Regions from separate parts of the Homo sapiens genome. Here all the other regions are linked to region 2. The links are contacts of gene promoters, found by promoter capture Hi-C in blood cells and fetal thymus (Javierre and others, 2016). All regions are on one chromosome and are shown on one strand. Each heading gives the region's core, a stretch centred on a gene start or on the middle of the fragment in contact. The rest is flanking DNA. Distances are from core to core; before and after follow the strand shown. Region 1 has its middle 6.7 kb from the start of SMG9. Region 2 holds the start of CADM4 (cell adhesion molecule 4). Region 3 has its middle 9.2 kb from the start of IRGC.

Region 1 (3,365 bases), core at 469-2,968, 120 kb before region 2:
TTTAACTGACATATATTTTAACATACAATAAAGTACACAAATTTTAAATGTAATCTCAATATATTTCTTCAAATACATTCACCTGAGTAGCCATCACTCAGATCAAGCTAGAAGTGTCTAGCCCCCTAAAGCTCTCATTTCCCTCCCAGCCAACAGCCCCCTTCATCCCAGGAACCACCATCCTGACCTGTCTTGATTCCTTTTGTTCAACTTTGAACTTTGGAAGGAACCCTGCTGCACGCCCTGGTGTGTATCTGTGTCTTGGGCTCTGCAGGGTGGTGGTGAGATTCAGCCATGCTGCTCATCCTTTTCATTACACAGTAGTATTCCATTGTGTCAGTATGCCCACAAGCCTCACCCGGGGGACTCTGCAAGCTCAGTCTCTCCCCGTCTTCTGGCCTCCCCTTCTCCTCCCTGTCCTGGCTGCTCAGGCCACTAGGCTCCTCTTCCTTCCCAAACTGCCTGCTGCTCTCCCCTCCTTCTTGCCCCATCCACTCAGAATAAAAATAAACATCACTAACATTTATTCAGTTCTTTGTTGTAGAGACGGGGGTCTCACTATGTTGCCCAGGCTGGTCTCAAACTCCTGGGCTCAAGAGATCCTCCCACCTTGGCCTCCCAAAGTGCTGGGATTACAGGCAGGAGCCACCATGCCCAGCCCAGCTATTTATTATGGTCCATAAAGGAAGCTGTATCATCATCATCAACACCAGACTGGCAGTCCAAAGGCATGCTTTAAGCTTTTATGTTGTGTGGAATAGCTGCTAACATATACAAACCAGGAGAGTGCTTTTTATAATTTGGAGGGGGTGTCAAATGATAAAACTTTCCTTTCTTTTTCCAGGATGAGCTGGCCCTTCTTCAAGTCAAGTCTAGCCCCCTCACCCTGTCCACACCTCCTCAAAAAACAGCTCCAAAGTCTCCTGGTCTCTTTTCCCTCTATCATTCCCATCTGCACACAAACATGCTATAATTTCTCCCATCTTATAAACATCCCACTGGAACTTTCAGAAGCATTTTAGATTCTCCATTTTCCTTAAAGTTCACTATTCACCAAACTGCAAAATATCTGTCGCTCTGTCACCTAGGCTGGAGTGCAGTGGCGTGATCTCGGCTCACTGCAACCTCTGCCTCTCAGCTTCAAGCAATTCTCGTGCCTCGGCCTCCCGAGTGTAGCTGGGATTACAGGTATGCACCTCCACCACGCCCAGCTAATTTTTTGTATTTTTAGTAGAGATGGGGTTTCATTATGTTGGCCAGGCTGGTCTCGAACTCCTAGCCTCACGTGTTCTGCCTGCCTCTGCCTCCGCCTCCCAAAGTGCTGGGATTACAGATGTGAGCCACCAAGCCCGGCCATAAAGTTGGTTCTAAACTCCTGCTACATAGAATGACATAAAAGACTTTGCCAGACATAAAGAGCTAAAGATGCCAGACACACGGAAGACATGCTGTAAGATTTCATTCGCATGAAGTTCAAAAACAGACACAACGAATCTCTGTGCCTGTTTTTGAAAGGCATTAGATGGGTGGTTGCTTCTGGAGCAGGGGAATTGACAGGGAAAGAGCACAAGGAAGACGTCTGGGTGCTGGAAATGTTCTCTGATTAGCGGTTACATGGATGCATAAATTTGTGAAAATTCATTACCTGGTACACTTAAGATCTGTGCCCTTTATATACTTTACCACACTTAAGTTATATGTCACCCAAAAAGAAAATAAATAAAAATAAAGAAAAATAAGTACTTATACATTTTTCCTGATAGATACTGAGAAGGTTCCATAACACAGTTAGATGGGGGATCAAAAGTCATGTCTTTTCCATGGTGGACCCCACATCTGCCTCCAGCTGCTGCCCCGTGTCTCTGCTCCTTAGTCCATTATCTTCTCTTTGGAACCCTTTGATCCCATGGCGCCAGGTCATCCCCTCTCCTGACACTCCTGGCTCCATCTCAGCCCCTCTCCAGGATCCTGGCTTCTACATGCGGGATGCTCAGGCCTAGTCCCTGCTCTCTTCAACCTCTCAGCCTAGATGATCTCAGCAAATCATAGCTTTAAATATCATCTATAAATAGGCAGCTCCAAAATTTAGCATACTTGTATAGTTATTAACAAAATGACAGGTTATCTGTGATTTTCTTAAAACAAACAAAACTCCAGGGGGTGGCGGGAAGTATGCTTATATGTGGGAGGGAAAAATAGAAGACATAAGACAAGAAAAATGCAGATGTCTGTCAATATTGGGCGATGGGTACGTGGGAGTCTCTTCATACCATAACATCTTTGTGTGTATTTTTAAAACTCTGTAGTGACTGTAATCCCAGCCTTTGGGAGGCTGATGGGGTGGATTGCTTGAACCCAGGGGTTCGAGACCAGCCTAGGCAGCATAGTGAACCCTCATCTCTAAAAAATTAGCCGGGTGTGCTAGAGCATATGTGGTCCCAGCTACTTGGGAGGCTGAGGCAGGAGGATTGCTTGAGCTCGGGAGGTGGAGGTTGCAGGGAGCCAAGATCGTGCCATTGCATTCCAGCCTGGGTGACAGTGCAAGACTTTGTCTCAAAATAAATTAATTAATTAAACTAAATTCTGTGACGCAAAGTCAGAAAGTCTTTATCTACAAACCCCGGCTTTTTCCCCTAACTCCAACCACTTATTTGATGACCAACGTGCATCTCAAAGTTAAGAATTTCAAAGCTTGTTGATTTCCCATCAAAAGTACTTTTCCTCATCCCGGTAAAAAGCCTCAGTCTTAGGCCGGGCGTGGTGGCTCACGCCTGTAATCTCAGCACTTTGGGAGGCTGAGGCGGGTGGATCACGAGGTCAGGAGATCGAGACCATCCTGGCTAACATGGTGAAACCCCGACTCTACTAAAAATACAAAAAAATTAGCCGGGCGTGGTGGTGGGCACCTGTAGTCCCAGCTACTCGGGAGGCTGAGGCAGGAGAATGGCATGAACCCAGGAAGCGGAGCTTGCAGTGAGCCGAGATCACGCCACTGTACTCCAGCCTGGGCGACAGAGCAAGACTCCATCTCAAAAAAAAAAAAAAAAAAAAAAAAAAAAAAGTCTCAGTCTTCAGGCAGTTGGCCAGGACCAAAACCTCTCGAACTTTTTTTTTTTAATTATTATTATACTTTAAGTTTTAGGGTACATGTGCACAATGTGCAGGTTTGTTACATATGTATACATGTGCCATGCTGGTGTGCTGCACCCATTAACTCGTCATTTAGCATTAGGTATATCTCCTAATGCTATCCCTCCCCCCTCCCCGCTAGAACTTTTTTTAATGCTGCAAATAACATGATGTTTTAATATATGTACACATTGTGGAATGGCTAAATCAAGCTAATTAACATATGCATTATTTCA
Region 2 (3,120 bases), core at 301-2,800:
TGGTAGCTATGGTTTTGAGGTCAGAAAGGATACTGGGAGCTGGGTACTGAGGACAGAAAGGGTGTGTGAAGCTGAAGTCCCTTGTGGGACTGGATGTAAAATTTTTTAGTCGGAATAAAAAGTAAGGATTTTCAGCCAGGCATGGTGGCTCACGCCTGTAATCCAGCACTTTGGGAGGCCAGACAGATGGATCACCTGAGGTAAGGAGTTCAAGACCAGCCTGGCCAGCATGGCAAAACTCCGTCTCTACTAAAAATATAAAAATTAGCTAGGCATGGTGGCGGGCGCCTGTAATCTCAGCTACTCGGGAGGCTGAGGCAGGAGAATCACTGGAACCTGGGAGGCAGAGGTTGCAGTGAGTCGAGATCGTGCCACTGCACTCCAGCCTGGGCAACAGAGCGAGACTCCGTCTGGGCGGGGAGGGGGGAGGGGGGAAGGAAAGATGTTCATAATTGGCACTTCTGGACCTCAGTTTGCCTGACAAATGGGCATGAGAGAGGTCGAGGCCTTCTTTCCATGGTTTCTCACTCTTTCTGGGTCCCATAGGTAATGATCCCGCATCAGGTCTACAGGGTGTCACAGAAGTGGGCTCAGGGAAACCCACTCCCAGGAGGGAGAAGGGACCTAAGTCTGGAGGGGTGAGTCACCCTCAAAGATGGGGAGAGAGGAAGGGCAGAGGCAAATACATGCAGAGAGAGGGAGAGAGGCTGGGGCAGGGAGACAGCAGGGAGGAGAGGGGACGCCAGGGCTTGGAAGGTGTTCACAGGAGCCTCTCCCTCCTGGGACCCAGGATTCAGGCTTCCTTCCAGTTAGTTCACTTTCAGGGGGCCCCTCCCGGAGAATGACGCGGAAACACGGGGTTTTCAGGTCAGGACAGGAGAGAGGGAGGGAGGGAACTGACCCCACCCCACTCCTGAGCCCCAGCCTCGCCCTGCCCTGGGAGATCCTTGACCTGCCTCGACCTCCGGACCCTCCGGACCTCCAGCTGCAGCCTCCCCTGTCCCGGTGGCTCAGCTCACAGCCTCTCGCTAGACTCCAGACACCCACCTGCCCGCAGCACGCCTCTCACACTCACCTTTCCCACGTCGCACTCCCTCCCTTACGCTCCCCCGTCACGCTGGCCACGCTCTCCCTTCGCACACACCGCACCCCACGACGCCCGCGCCCCCACCCTCGCACAGCCTCCAGCAACACCCTGCCACCCTCCCCTCCGCGCAGCGCAAGCACCCTGCATGCCAGCAACTCCGCACCCTCGCGCGCAGCACCTGGGCCCGCACGCAGCACCCTCACCCAACACCCTCCATTTCCCGCGCTCACCGAGATCCCCCACCTGCTCCCACGCCGCTGTCGCCCTCCCGCGCACCCCTTCCCGCCCTCCTCACCCCTCTCCTCTCCAGCTTTCGCACCCCGCACCGTTCCCCCACCGTGCCGTCCCCCCGATTGTCTCCGGGCCTCTCCTCCGTCTCCCCCTCCCCTCCCCGGCCCCGCCCCGGCCTCGGCGCCCCGCCCCCGGGCGGGCAGGGGGCGGGGCGCGGGGGGCGGGGCGGGCGGCGCGGGCGGTGCAGGTGCCGGGCCGGGAGCGAGCGGCGGCGGCGGCGGCGGCGGCACCATGGGCCGGGCCCGGCGCTTCCAGTGGCCGCTGCTGCTGCTGTGGGCGGCCGCGGCGGGGCCAGGTAGGGTCGGGGGCCGGGGTCGGCCGGCCGGGCTGGGGCGGGGGGCGCGCTGTGGTGACAGCCCGGCAGCCTCGGGGCCGCAGAGGCCGAACAATGCGCGCGGGGCCGGGCCGGGCCCCCTCCCCGGGACAAAGCGCAGCGCGGGCCGGGAGCCGGGAGCGACGAGCGGGGGAGGGGGCGCGGGGCCCGGCCGCCGTGCCGCAGCCCCCCCACCCGCGCAGGCTGGATCCCGGCGGGGACAAAGGGCCCGAGACCCCCCTACACACACAAGTCCGCCCTCCCCAGGCCGGTCCCGCTGTCCTTCTGTCCAGTCTCTGCGTCCCTCTGTCCGCCCGTCTCTGAACCCCCCCGTCTGGCTCCTCGTCCCCCTACCCTTGTCCTCTATCCCTCAGTCTCGAAGTCCTGTCCCTCCTTCTGTCTGTCTCCCTCTCTTCTTGCCTCGGTGTTCCTCATCTATTCTGTCTTTGTCCCCTACCTCTGTCCCCTGGTCTCTGTCCCCTTTTCCTGGGTCACTCTGTCCCCTCCATCATCCTGTCTATTCTCTTTCCCCCGGATTTCTGCCCTCCCTCTCTGCCCCTATTCTTGGTCCCTGTCTCTGTCTCGCTGTCACCCTTGTTTTTCTGTCCCTTTTTCTCTGTCCCCTATCTGCCCCATCCCCTTGTCTCTGTCCCCTGTCTTTCTGTCACTCGTTTCTCTAACCCTTTCTGTCACCTGTCTCTTTCCCCCTTCTCTGTCCCACTATCTCCATCCCTGTCTTTCTGCTGTGCCTCCTCTCTCTACGCTTACAGCCTCCATCCCGGGATCTCCCATTCCCATCCTACCTTCCTCCCTCTCTCTATCCCTCTGTGCCCCTGAAGAGGAATTCAGTCAGGCAGGGCATTCTAAAGAGCCCTGGAGGGGAACATCTGTGTGCATGTGTGTGGGGAAGTGAGAATGGGGGACCTTGGCGTGTAGGCACACACGTGGATTCAGCGAATGCCTCTCCAAACCCTGCTCACCCATTCACACACCCAGGCTTGACTCACAGAGAAGCCCCTGTCCAGGACATCCAGGGAGCCATCCACATACCCTCATCACACACTGTGAGAAGCTGGAGACCCCCGAGGTTGGGTGACCCTGAGAATGGGGACAAGGTCAGGAAATGTCACCCACACACACTCTCACACTGTGTAAGTCTTGAACCTGCCACGGGTCACCCCTCCCTGGTGGATAAGGCCACTTTTGGAAGGAACAGAGGATTGGAAGGTGGCTAGGCAGAAGCAGGAGGGCTGGGTGTTCGGCAGAGATTGGTGAGAGGAGTTATAACCAGGTGGCATGGGGCTGGCGGCCTGGGCTTAAATCTTGGCTCTTGCCATTTGCCATCGCAGCCAATGGTAAACACCTTCCTCTCTCCAGGCTTCTGTTTCTCTTTCTGTAAAGTGAGGATGTTGAACTCAGTGACATGAAA
Region 3 (3,113 bases), core at 84-2,583, 86 kb before region 2:
GCGTGTTTTCTTTAAAATAGCCAATCCACAACCACCATGGGAAAGCCTAAGGGAATACAGGCATAGGCCCACAGGTTGTTTTTTTTTTTTTTTTGAGACGGAGTCTAGCTCTGTTGCCCAGGCTGGAGTGCAGTGGCGCAATCTCGGCTCACTGCAACCTCTGGCCTCCCGGGTTCAAGTGATTCTCCAGCCTCAGTCTCCCGAGTAGCTGGGATTACAGGTGCCCGCCACCACCCCTGGCTAATTTTTTGTATTTTTAATAGAGATGGGGTTTCACTATATGTTGGCCATGCTGGTCTCGAACTCTTGACCTCAGGTGATCCACCCACCTTGGCCTCCCAAAGTGCTGGGATTACAGGTGTGAGCCACTGCACACAGCTCTCCATGACTGTTTGACACTATCTTTTGATTCCCTAAAAAATGTTTACAAGAATTTCCGCTAGATAATGCTGAACTGGCTGAACTATGGATATAGATGGATCGTATCTGAAAGATGACAATGGTAAAAACTGTGTAAGATATGTAGTTACCACTTCCTTCGAAGTTGCTGAAGCCGCCCCTTACCTGTGGCTACTTTTTTTTTTTTCTTTTGAGATGGAGTCTTGCTCTGTTGCCCAAGCTGGAGTACAGTGGCGCAATCTCAGCTCACTGCAACCTCTGCCCACTGGATTCAAGCAATTTTCCTGCCTCAGCCTCCCGAGTAGCTGGGATTACAGGCACCCACCACCATGCCCAGCTAATTTTTTTGTATTTTTAGTAGAGACAGGGTTTCGTCATGTTGGCCAGTCTTCCTGAACTCCTGACCTCAAGTAATCTGCCTACCTCGGCCTCCCAAAGTGCTGGGATTACAGGTGTGAGCTGCTGCGCCTGGCCCCTGTGGCTACTTTTGCACGAAAAGCTAAACTCACTGCCCTTGCTGGCCTCCTCGTGAAAGGGCAATCTGTTACTCTATACAGATAGTAGATATGCCTTTGGGGTTGCTCCTGATTTTGGACTGCTATGGAAATGAAGGGGTTTACTCACGTCCACTGGAGGTCAAATTAAAAATGGATCCTATGTACGGGACTTACTGGATGCCATCCAGCTGCCAGCTGCCTTGGCTATTATGGAAACTCCCGGACATTCAAGGTTAACCTCTGCGGAAGCTAGAGGAAACAGTCTTGGCTGATAATGCCGCAAAGGATGCTGCTGTTAAAGGTTCGGTTCCTCAAATCTCTCTTGAGGCCCAGCTAAAAGAGCCACCAAAAGGTGATCTAAAAATGATTACCAAAGATGCACAAAATTGGGCACCAGAAACGGAAGAACAAAATTGGAAAGATCACACTGCTAGTTCAATGATTTGAAAAAAAAAAAAAAAAAAAAAAAAAAGCTGTGTTTAAGGCCTGATAACCAGTTCTCTCCAAGTCAATATTCTTAACTACAGTACATAATCTGACCCACTGGGGAACTTACAAATTGTTTTATGAAACAATATTAGGGGGAGTGACATTAAAAGAAGCTGTACTGGCCAAGTGCAGTGGCTCTCGGGCCTGTAATCCCAGCACTCTGGGAGGCCGAAGGGGGCGGATTGCTTGAGTCCAGGAGTTCGAGACCAGCCTGGGCAACATAGGGAAATCGTGTCTCTACTAAAAATATCAAAATAAGTAGTTTCAACTACTGGGGAGGCTGAGGTGGGAGAGTCACCTGAGCCTAGGAGATCAAGGCTGCAGTGAGTGGAGATCGTGCCATTGCACTCCAGTCTGAGTGACAGAATGAGACCCTCTCTCAAAAAAAAAAAAAAAAAAAAAAAAAAAAGCTGCCAAAAAAAAAAAAAAAAGCCTATTTGGCACTTGTGCCACCTGCCGTAAGTTTAACTCAGGAAAATGTGTACATCCCGATCCTGGACATTTTAATCTACCTAATGGGCCCTTCAAGGTTTGGCAAATGGATTTTATCCAACTACCCACTTCCGTGTGTGTGTGTGTGTGTGTGTGTGTGTGTGTGTGTGTATATATATATATATATATATATATGTACTAGTAACAGTTTGCACATTCTCCTATTGGGTAGAGGCTTTCCTGGTAGACAAGCCACTGCTTCAGCTGTGGCCAAAATTCTCCTGGAAAAAAAGTATTCCCACCTAGGGAACTCCCCTTGAAGTACATCGTGATCAGGAGCCCATTTTACTGGCCATATAATAAAACAAGTGAGTTCAGTTTGGCCAATTTCTCAGCATTTCCACTGTCTACAATCCCCAATCTTCTGGCTCAGTGGAACAAACAAGGGGAACTATAAAAACCCAGTTGGATGGCCGGGCACAGTAGCTCACCCCTGTAACCCCAGCACTTTGGAAGGCTGAGGCAGGCAGATCACTTGAGATCAGGAGTTCAAGACCAGCCTGGCCAACATGGTGAAACCCCATCCCTATTAAAAATACAAAAATTAGCCAGGTGTGGTGGTACACGCCTATAATCCCAGCTACTTGGGAGGCTGAGGCAGGAGAATTGCTCAAACCCAGGGGACAGAGGTTGCAGTGAGCTGAGATCAAGCCGCTGCACTCCAGCCTAGGTGATAGAGTGAGACTCCATTTCAAAACAAAAAAACAAAAAACCCAGTTGGCAGAATTTATCTACACCTTCCTTGACCTAAGTTCCTCCTTTGGTATTATTAAATCTAAGGGCCACTCTCTTTGGGGCTCATAAACTTTCACCTTTGGAAATAGTCACAGGCCATCCTATGCACTTGGCCTCCTCTGCTTTTGACCCTTAATTGATAAAAGGAGACATATCCATCTGGGTGCAGTGGCTCACACTCGTAAAATCCTAACACTTTGGGAGGCTGAAGCAAGGGGATCGCTTGAGTCCAGGAGCTCGAGACCAGCTTGGGTAACATGGCAAAACCCTGTCTCTACAAAAACACAAAAATTAGCTGGGTGTAGTTGTGTGTGCACCTGTAGTCCCAGCTACTCGGGATGCTGAGACGGGACGATCACTTCAACCGGGAGGCAGAGGTTGCAATGAGCCAAGATCCCGCTACCGTACTCCAGCCTGGGCACCAGAGGGAGACACTGTCTCAAAACAAAAACAAAAAAACAAAAAAAAACAAAACAGACATACTTCAATATTAATAAAGCC

What was found. The method cuts DNA at HindIII sites, captures the fragments that hold promoters and counts their contacts. A CHiCAGO score of 5 or more calls a contact.
Region 1: a fragment that was not itself captured here is called in contact with the fragment with the promoter of CADM4 in region 2 in 1 of 17 cell types (monocytes); the score reaches 5.1 in monocytes.
Region 3: a contact is called between a fragment that was not itself captured here and the fragment with the promoter of CADM4 in region 2, in 3 of 17 cell types (neutrophils, monocytes and total CD4 T cells). The highest score is 7.0, in neutrophils.

Annotation. Positions count from the first base shown.
Region 1 is chr19:43,759,959-43,763,323 of GRCh38, reverse strand. No RefSeq gene overlaps it. Among named protein-coding and RNA genes, the nearest start is that of SMG9, 6.7 kb to the right of the region's middle. The HindIII fragment of the contact is 1,951 bases long and covers 743-2,693 here.
Region 2 is chr19:43,638,280-43,641,399 of GRCh38, reverse strand. CADM4 (cell adhesion molecule 4) reads left to right here and starts at 1,550. Exons shown (of 9, transcript NM_145296.2): 1 at 1,550-1,673. The coding sequence starts at 1,610. RefSeq lists a silencer at 1,527-1,666. The HindIII fragment of the contact is 9,580 bases long and covers 1-3,120 here.
Region 3 is chr19:43,723,706-43,726,818 of GRCh38, reverse strand. No RefSeq gene overlaps it. Among named protein-coding and RNA genes, the nearest start is that of IRGC, 9.2 kb to the right of the region's middle. The HindIII fragment of the contact is 6,289 bases long and covers 1-3,113 here.